2 separate regions of the Homo sapiens genome follow, and region 1 is linked to region 2. Evidence: promoter capture Hi-C in human tissues and cell types (Jung and others, 2019). All regions are on one chromosome and are shown on one strand. Each heading gives the region's core, a stretch centred on a gene start or on the middle of the fragment in contact. The rest is flanking DNA. Distances are from core to core; before and after follow the strand shown. Region 1 overlaps CDH8 (cadherin 8). Region 2 holds the start of CDH8 (cadherin 8).

Region 1 (4,641 bases), core at 887-3,386, 39 kb before region 2:
CATGCTAGCTGTCTTGTTCCTAGCCAAGGTACTCGCAGGTAAAATTTTATTAAAGAGAGAACAGTCCTAGTATACATACAATGAAAACATTCTCTTTTATAAGACATAGAAATTATTTCTTGTGATAGAAGATTATAAATTAGACAACATCTCAGGACTGGACTGACCCAAAGCTATAATAAAGAAGGAAGGAAACACAAAACAAATTGTTTAGAGGCTACTAAAAACAATTACTGTTTTGCACAAAAGATCATCTAATTCTCAGATTCTAAAGCAATAGATCGGCCTGTCTGGGGAGCAGGCATGTTTGCTGTTACTTTCACTTTTTTTTTTGAGATGGAGTCTCATTCTGTCACCCAGGCTGGAGTGCAGTGGCACGATCTCGGCTCACTGCAACCTCAGCCTCCCAGGTTCAAGCGATTCTCCTGCCTCAGCCTCCCGAGTAGCTGGGACTACAGGCATGTGTCACAATGCCCGGCTAATTTTTTGTATTTTTAGTAGAGACAGAGTTTCACCGTGTTAGCCAGGATGGTCTCAGTCTCCTAATCTTGTGATCTGCCTGCCTTGGCCTCCCAAAGTGCTGGGATTACAGGCGTGAGCCATGGCTCCCGGCCTACTTTTACTTTTTATGTGTCTTATTCTTTACTCGGATGAATTAGAACAGAACAGATTCCATTAGGCAGACCAAGTGCCTATAATCATATGTAATAATGTTTTCTCATTACTGTATAATTAAAAGTAACATACATTTTTATTAAAAGGATGAAGGAAAAATTGCTTTCAACTTCACAAGCTTACATCTCACCTGCCCAACTCAGTAGATATAATCCATCCACTCTTGGTCTTCTGAACCACTTTCCTCCTACAAGAATGTATGAAATCTTCAGATGGCTCATACTGATCCTAATCCTATGTGAAAGTTTCCTGTGTTTTTAAATCATGCTGAAAAGATAGTCCGGTTAGGCAGCTTTAAAGACATATGTCTCCTTCGCCTCCAGACAAAGAAGAATAAACCTAATTCATCCTTGCAGATAAATTCATCAAAACTCAAGGCCAGTGGAAATGTTTACTAGTGCCTCTTCTATTTCGTAGCTTAGAATATCTGAACTAGAAGAGACCTGACAGGTCATCCAACCCAATCCCCTGAAGCACAGATTAAAAATAACAGCATCAAGGCTGAGGTTAAGTCCAGGATGAAAGAATCATGCCTTGTAATTGAGCAACACAGTCTTGACACCGTCATTGCAGGGAATGGCAAACTCTGCACATGGGGACAAATTCTGCCCTCCTCGGAGAATGAATGCAACTAAAAATTATTCCCAACCTCTAACCAGGTGAAGCAAATTCATGCTCTGGCATTTTCCCTTCTTAAAAGAGCATTAATGTACTAACTCATCACATTTAAAGGTGCTCATCAACAATAGGTTTTATTTGAGAATATATGTAATCGTATAATATTGACATTCCATAAAGCTACGGCAGCTTTCATTCTAAATTCTGAAGTTTTTGCAAAAACAGGGACCTAGATAAGATGGTCACCAAGAAAAAGACATTTTTACCTAAACCCATGGTTCAGTGGTAATTCAATTAATAAAATGATTTTCAAAACACAAATTAAATTATATTATATCAATCAGGATAGTTTATTACATCTCTGATTAGGTCTACAATTTATTTATTCATTTATATTTATTTTTTGTAGAGGTGAGGGACTTGCTACATTGCCAAAGCTGGTCTCGAACTCCCGGGCTCAAGCAATACTCCGACCTCACTCAGCCTCTCAAAGCGCTGGGATTACAGGCATGAAACACCATGCCTGGCCCAGGTCTACAATTTAAACAGTCCTGAAATATTGAGTAGTTTAGCATTTTGTTTTCTTTCATATATGAGGTTAATACACTTCAAACAAGTATTTCATGACCACAGAATATTGTGTGTATGTGTGTGTGTGTGTGTGTGTATGTGTGTGTTTAAGTATAATCCTTTTCTGAGGAGTGTTTTTTTAAAAAAGAATAATTCTTCTCCTTTATCCTAAGATTCAGATTTTCTCTAAAAAAGTCATAAAGTCATAATTTTAATGTTATTTCCAAGCCACCTTAACTTAAAGTCTCTCAGAGTCCACTTTGCTGATGTGCCAGGAATTCTCACAATATTCCGCAATCCTGCCTTATGGTACACTGTTTGAAATAAAATAAAGATGTTCTATTGAGAAAAGAACGTAATGCATATTTCTTTGAAGCCCTGCCTGTATCATTTTGCACATGCCATCGAAGAGATCCCATATACTAGTTGTTTATCTAGGCCCTTAAAGTCTATACACTGACTCTTATACTCCTATATTTTCTCTTGCTCCTACCATATTTTTATCCTTCCAGAAAAACAACTGTGAAATGATCATGGACTTCCTTACAGTAGAATGCCAGTTAATAAATATAGAAGGAATATGGAGATTTTTTAAAATCACGAATTAATGCTAAAACTATTGGATGAAAGTCTAATGAGAAATAGAATTGTCAGAAAGTATCTCCCCACAAATTACTTATTAATAACAAAAGGGAAAATAGTAGCTTTGCAGAAGAAAGCCCTGACAGACACCATCTCAACCAGGTAAGCAAAGTTAGCATCATCAATATTGAGATAAACCAACCTCACGTAACTTGTGATATGGTGCCCTTAGAAAACCGCATCACTTCTACAGGGTTTTTGTTAAAAACGCCTAACTTGTAGTACTCACAAGGGAATATCAGATGCAAAAATCTAAAAATGTTCCACAAAATAACTGGCATATAAACTCCAAAAATACAAATTTCAAGAAAGTCTGTGAAATTGTTCCAATAAAAGGAAACTAAAAAGATATGACAATTAAATGCAGTAAGTCATCTTGACCTGTACCAAGAAATACAAATATCTATAAACAGCAATTTTAGAATAACTGACAAAATTTTTATGAATTATGGATAGAATAATAGTATTGTGCCAATGCTACATTTCCAGATCATAATAATTACTCTGTGGTTAGAAAATACATTGAAGTATTTTATGGTAATGGAAAAAAATATCCCCAACTTGCTGGAAAAAGGTTTAGAAGAAAAATGCAATATGCATGAAAAGATAATTAGGAAATGATAAAATGAATGAAGCAAAATTAAACACTTGATGAATATGGTGAGATTCTTGTATTATTATTAATATATTGTTATTGTTGGAAATTTTCTGTAAATTTGAAATTATATCCCAATAAAATGTGGTCTTCTATGGTAAATAATAATTAAAGCACTTCATCAAATATCTGCAGGTGTCTTTTTCCTTATTTGACAGGTGAGTAAATGGAGATTCAAAGAGATCAGGTTATTTGCATAAAAGCACATGGCTAGTTGGTGGAAGAATTGGGTATTTTAACATAGGACTGTTTGCATCCAAGACTCTTCGATCTAGCATACTGTCTTCCACCAGGTGCCCTTGATTCAAGACACAGAGAAAGCTGATATGGACTTCAATGTATCTTTTTATTGCTTCTTCCTCTGAGATGTACCTAAGCTCTCACCTTGTAATTAAACAAGTCATGCCCACTATATGTTTGGCATTACTGAGAATGCTGAGTCACCCAACTTTAGCCCATGGATCAAAGGACCTCTGGGATGGGTAGTAGCATTGTCATCCAGAAAAAAGCTACTTGTCAACTAGAAAAGATATTCAAGTCTCTGCTTCCTCCATTCACTTTCTTGATCTTCGAAATAAAACTGAGTTGCTGATTCCAAAGATCATTTTCTCTGTAAGACTAGATATTTTATTCTAATGACTTACTGAGCCAAAAGATTTAATAAAATCAATACAGAGGGGAAAAAAAGGACTCAGATCTAAGAAATTGGAAGGATAGATATTATATGGAAGCTCAAACTAAGATACTGGGCATGACAAAGCAGATAAGATCAGTTAAGTACAAGAGTCTCATTAGCAAACATAACTAATACACAGCTTTAGAAGGATGAGAATTTAAATGATTAGTGATGCCTCTTCATTATCTGATTATAAACAATCATCAGAAGAGTAAGGATAATAAAGAGAGTAGCTTTCATCCACTAAGTGCCTACTATATGAAAGACACTGCTAGGTACTTCTCATGTATTTACTGCCTCATTTAAGCCAAAATATAAAGATTACCAAATATTTTACAGATGAAAAATCTGAGCTCAGTGATGTTGAGCTTACTTGTTTATGTTCACATGGATTTGGATCTAAAGCACAACTCCACCACTAATTTTGCTAGGGTTTCACAGCTTTTGGAGACTGGAGCTATTAAAAAGGAAGATTGAGATTTAGAGGCAGAAACTCAGAGTAAAAGGATCATGAAAATCATGGAAGTCACAGGCTACTTCCACACAGAGAGCACGAAGAATGAAACAAGGCTTTGGAGCTAGATAGATGAATGTTAGAGTTCAGCAGATACAGAACAGTCTTCGCAATGCTGGAAAATTTACCTAACCTCTTGCAGTGTATCAGTTTCTTACAATGCAGTTATAATAACATCTAACTTTTAGGTTTATTATGAAAATTAAATGAGATAATGGGTGTAAAGTGCCAGGTAGTGATTATGACTTTAAAGGACCCTGAAAAATGTCATACACATGCATATCGCTTTCC
Region 2 (5,085 bases), core at 800-3,299:
TTTCCCACATATAGTTTTCCAGTTGAAAAGCTCCTATAATAAAGCCTGAGGTGACAGCCCAAGGAGGGTTTTTAACCATTGAGATGGCTGTCAGGAGTGTTGTAAAGAGAACAGGCGCTTCAAAAGCCAGCCCCCATCCCTCGGATCTGCTTTGCGATGGTACCGGATGCGAGAGGACAGTACTCTCGCTTACCTTCCCTAGCGTCCCCTCGTTCCCATTGTCAGCCCCCAGATATCATGACGCCAGGTGAAAGAAAGCAGCTGATCTGATTAGCAGCTCGGGCGCGCTAAGGGATTGTCGAATCATGCCTCCTAAGGAGGAAACTCTTGTGGAATCTTCAGGAAAGGGTGGTAAAGTTGAAAGGACCTTTCCTCCCTCCCGCTGTCTTGGTGATAAGCTCTATCGTTTAATTGGTGCTGAAGTGAGCAGCTGCCAGCCCGATTTTCCATTACGGACTAATATTGTGCGTTTGCAACAATAAACAATTAATGTGGTTTGATTTCTTACATTTAGCAACCCAAGCAAACAGCTGCCATCTCCGCTGGTGGAGGCAAACGGCTAGTCCTTGACATGCCGCCGGCTCCGTGCCTGCGGGGGAAGGGTCAACCGCAAGGAAACTTTGAGGATTCTGCCAGACTGGGTGGGGGAAGGCTCTGGTGTTTGGGAGGAATAAGCGGAGGAAATTGTGGATACCTGTTGGCATCAGCGTTGGCGGCAGCACGTTTTTTTACCGTTTCCCAGCCTTGGCTGGATCCTGGGAGAACCGGAGTAGGTCCCTTATGAACCTCTTACGTACTGGCAGAACCTAGGCAAGAGCCTTTTTCCCTCCGATCCTGCGAGGGGCGCGACCAGCCCCTCAAAGGTTCCCGGATGAGAAGCGGCCAGACCACAGAAAGCGCAGGTCTGGGCTCAGCTGTCCCTAGGAGAGCGGCTACGGAGTCCCCGGCTTAAGGGGGCCTCCGTGCACGCAATCTCGAGTTGCGGGGAGACACTGCCTGGGGGTCCTGCAGGGGTGCTGGGCAGCGTCTTGGCGAGGGCAGAGCCGCAGGGCGACTCCGGAGCCCGGCAAGTTTGTAGCGGGCACCGCACCTCCCAGAGCTGGAGCTGCCACTTGTGGGAAAGCCTCGCGCTGGGGCTTTCGCAGCTGAGCCTTGGCCCGCAGCCCTGCCGCGGGGGTCGCCCTCCCTCGCCTCGGAGATGAGGCGGTGCAGAAAACCAGCCATAGACCACTCGGGCCCCCTCGCCTCCTTTTTTCCCTGGCTTGCACCCTCCGCACAGCGGGCTGCAGGTGCTTCCCATTCACCGCACGGACCCCGCAGTGAAGGCGCGCGGCTGCAGCCGCGCCTGCCTGCGTTGGGAAGCGGCGAAATAGCCAAGTCGCCGCAGGGAAGGAAACCGGCAGGAAAACTGGAGGGGCACAGCCTGGAGCTTGCTACTCTCTAGGATCTGTTGTCAAAGCAGTTTGCAAAAACAGTCAGGCAAAACCTTGAGGCGTACGTACGTTATCACCCACGGATATCGCGAAAGACACAGCTTAGCCCAGAGCCTATGCTAAGAACCCTCATCCACCATCTGAGGGGCAGGAGGCGCGCAAGGTGTCCGAAGGGGCATGGGAATTCCTATAAGAAACGGTCCCTTCTGGATAGTCGGAACATAGAGGAAAACGGGGGTGGGTTAGGGGAACACTTACTCTTGTGGGGCCCTGCGCTGGCGAATGTCAAGCCTCCAGGTTCACAAATGGCTGGAGGTGCTCGGGGTTAGCTCCCGAGGGCGGCAAGCGCCGACCGGTCCTCGCTCGCTAGGCAGGCGCCTCCGGATTCCGTTCATGCCTCTCGGAGCTACAGGGCTTGGTGCGGAGACGCAGGGCGGGCGCGCTGGGCTCTGGGTGTCCGCAACCCAAAGTGCAGCTGGTGTCTTGACGCTACCGTCTATGCACAAGCCGGCGGCGGCGGCGGAGCTTGGAGGAGGCAGGGAGATTCCAAATAAATCCACTAATTCTGGGCTGAGCGCTCCGGCGTGCGAGCCCGCCTGCCTGCCAAATGTAACTGTGAAGTGATGTGGAAAAGTGAGCCGGGTGCCTCCCCTGACGGATCTCATTGGGCAGAGCGCAGAGGCAGGTCTACCACTTGGAAATTCATGTAAGCAGTCCCCCCTCCCCGCCCCCTCCCCGCCTTCCCCCTTCGCTCTCCCGCGCTGGCTCGATCGCTCTCTTTCCCCCTACCCAAGTGGGCGCACAACTTTTCGCTCCTCGCTCCCGAGCAAGCCCCGCGCGTCTCTGCCGCCAGAGCCACGAGGTGAAGATGCGCCCTTCCGCGCGGTGCGCGCAGCCCGCTGAGGACCGAGCTCCTGGATAAGTGGGCTGGCAGATAATAACAGCATGCGGATGAGGTACCTGCGAGCTTTCTCTCTAGAGGTCTCACCTGAGCTCTGGGGCTGGCGTTATGTTGAAAAGCGTCTCAGTGACCCGCAGCTATTTTCCGTAGGAGGAAGAGGACGCGACAGGGCAAAGGGTTGAGCGTGGGCAGCTTACCTCCTCTTTATTCCAAGGGCCTCTTGCGTACAGAATAGGGTGATTGTGAGACCCCTGCCTGCAACTCAGACGCTATGTAGAGGCTGTGTGTCGCGGTTCTGTGATGGAGCGCATTCCTGATGTCCCCGTGCTCCTTTGGGAAAATGGGATGAGGGACAGCAGAGTGGCAGCCAGGAGGGGCGCGCAGTAGTTGGTTGTGGGGAGGAGGGCAGGCAAAGCAGAACTTGCTTGGGAAATAGGGGAGGAATTTCTAGGTCTTCTCAATGTGCCCTGATCTTGTCATATCCTCTCAGATACCATCCTTGCGGTTCTCCTGCCTCCACCAAGACCTGCCCTGTCTGTGGTCACTTCAAGTCTTCTGATGGGCTGCGCTCAGATCTTGAGAAATGGCCACCCTGGGGTAAAAGGGACCATGAATCAGGAGGTCCAGATTTCTTTTCTTTTTCAACACTGGGGCTAACATGTAGACGATGCCACAGTCATCATCTTCTAATAAAATTAGATAAATATAAGACAAATAAATTCTTACCTTAAAAAAAAAAACCCTCCCCTCCACAGGAGATCCCGATTTAGTCCCTTCCCTGTGTGCACTAGACGTGAGCCTGAGGGTGGATTTTACCATCTGGGGACAGAGCAAGAACAGAAGGGGGAAAAAGGTGCAGGGGACAAGACGCACAGTCTGTAGAGCTTGTACTGTCTCACTCAAATTAATGAGAAAGAGTGAACAGAATGAGAAAATAGGCACAACATGCTTATGATATTTATGCAAATTTGACATTTTTTTGTGTGCTGCATCTGACAACCCATTGTGAAATGTGAAAAAGAGTATTGGCTGTAGCTCTAATATCTGATTGTTTCATGTTCTAGCTGTCATAGGCAAGAAACTTAGTGGATTATTTCAGAGAGGGAGAGGTGAAGAGAACCAAGTGGTATTTTTTTTCCCCCAGGCAGTCACTAAGTAACTGTTTGTTCTCTTCTCAGACTGTGTCTGCTTACAGGGTATTGGAATTGGCTAATTCTGTCTTGGAAAAAGGAGCAGCAGTCAAGGCTCAATCAAATTATAACTGCTGCTAGACCAGACAGTCCCAAGTGGACAAAGAAATAGATCACATTTTGGGTTGTGCTTAATTTCAGATATTCATTTTCACTTGAACAAATAATTTGAACCGTTCCTTGGGGTAACTTCTTACATCTATGAAAACTCAAAAAAACTCATGTGCTACTGAAAGCTGGGGATTGTCACAAGTAACAAACTTGTCTCAAAAAAAAAAAAAAAAGCCAGATTGTTAGACAATATCCTCAAATCTCATTTTCTTAACAAACTATGCTGACATAGTAAAGATAGTCAGAATCCAATGGCTTTTAAAGAGAGCCAGAATCCAATGGCTTTGGGTATCTAGGGTTAAGAAGAGTTTGCTTTGACTCATCTTGTCCATATTTACTCTTACAGCAGTTATATACATTGTCTTCCCTGAATTTTGGTCCTCTGGAATTCAGGGTAACCTGTCTATACCTGCTAATATCTGCTCAAAGCGTTACAATAGGAATTTCCTGACTAATTCTTAAGAGAGGTTTGGATGATTAAGCAGTGTGATAGAGGATTAGGATAATGTTAGAAAGCCCTATAAGGATATTTCTAAAATAATCAGGGATGCTGAAAGACAAGGCATTTATCTCTTTAACAATTCCACCCACTCTTAATAAGATGCAGTGTAATGTCACAATGGTGAAAGCCTACCCCCTTAAGAAAGTGTTTTCTTTTCAACATCCTCTCCAGGGTTACAGCCTTCCAGCGGGAAGAGGACTGTGGTACATAGGCTTTTTAGAATGGCAAGTGAAATTGCATGTGTTGTGGAGCATTGCGGGGGAGGAAGGGTGAGGAATTATCTGATAGGGCAGGAGTATAATTGGAGAAGGAGTTGGGGGGAGGGAGAGAAGATTGCATTCAGAATAACCTTGGCTGACTAATGCAAAAAGTAGAATGAGGCAGGATGTCTCTAGCCTGGGTCTCGGTGACAGGCAGGCAGTTTTGCAGGGGAGTCTACTGTAGAGAGTGAATGAGATGGAGAGGGACTCCATGTAGTAAAATACACTTTTATTTTTTCACTATGGCTGGAATGTTTGTCGTAATTTTGACCAAGGGACACAGTAAACCAAGTGCCCAGCTAGTTGCAGAGTGGGGAATCAGATGGTTCATAGGAAACAGAGCTCAAGAAGAGGGAGACAGTGTTAGGAAGTCTCCAGCTTCTCTGGTTGGAGCAGGAGATGACAGAATGGAACATAACTATTATTTGCTGCGTTAAAATGCAATCTTTCGTCGTTTTCATTCATCAAGATAGAATTAAAAATTAAAACAAACTAAAAACAAAATGTATTTACCATATTATGATTACTGGTAACCTTTAGATTTATTGGATTGCTTGTAATGTGATATCTATGGTGCCAGGTATTATCATTTAAAATAAAATCTCAAGAATATGACATATGAAAAATGACAACTCAAATTACCATGTAATATTTTTCCAGAAATGAAGGGTCCCTTTCCTGTGTTTCA

What was found. Contacts are between HindIII fragments. The study calls those that stand out against the background at their distance.
Region 1: a contact is called between a fragment that was not itself captured here and the fragment with the promoter of CDH8 in region 2, in 1 of the 25 tissues and cell types used here (neural progenitor cells).

Annotation. Positions count from the first base shown.
Region 1 is chr16:61,995,063-61,999,703 of GRCh38, forward strand. All of the region lies in intron 2 of CDH8 (cadherin 8), which reads right to left. Among named protein-coding and RNA genes, the nearest start is that of CDH8, 39 kb to the right of the region's middle. The HindIII fragment of the contact is 5,574 bases long and covers 1-4,641 here.
Region 2 is chr16:62,034,389-62,039,473 of GRCh38, forward strand. It overlaps CDH8 (cadherin 8), which reads right to left and starts at 2,050. Exons shown (of 12, transcript NM_001796.5): 1 at 1,692-2,050. LOC124903777 (a long non-coding RNA gene) reads left to right here and starts at 2,202. Exons shown (of 2, transcript XR_007065217.1): 1 at 2,202-2,389; 2 at 2,825-3,045. RefSeq lists an enhancer at 1-352. The HindIII fragment of the contact is 11,196 bases long and covers 1-5,085 here.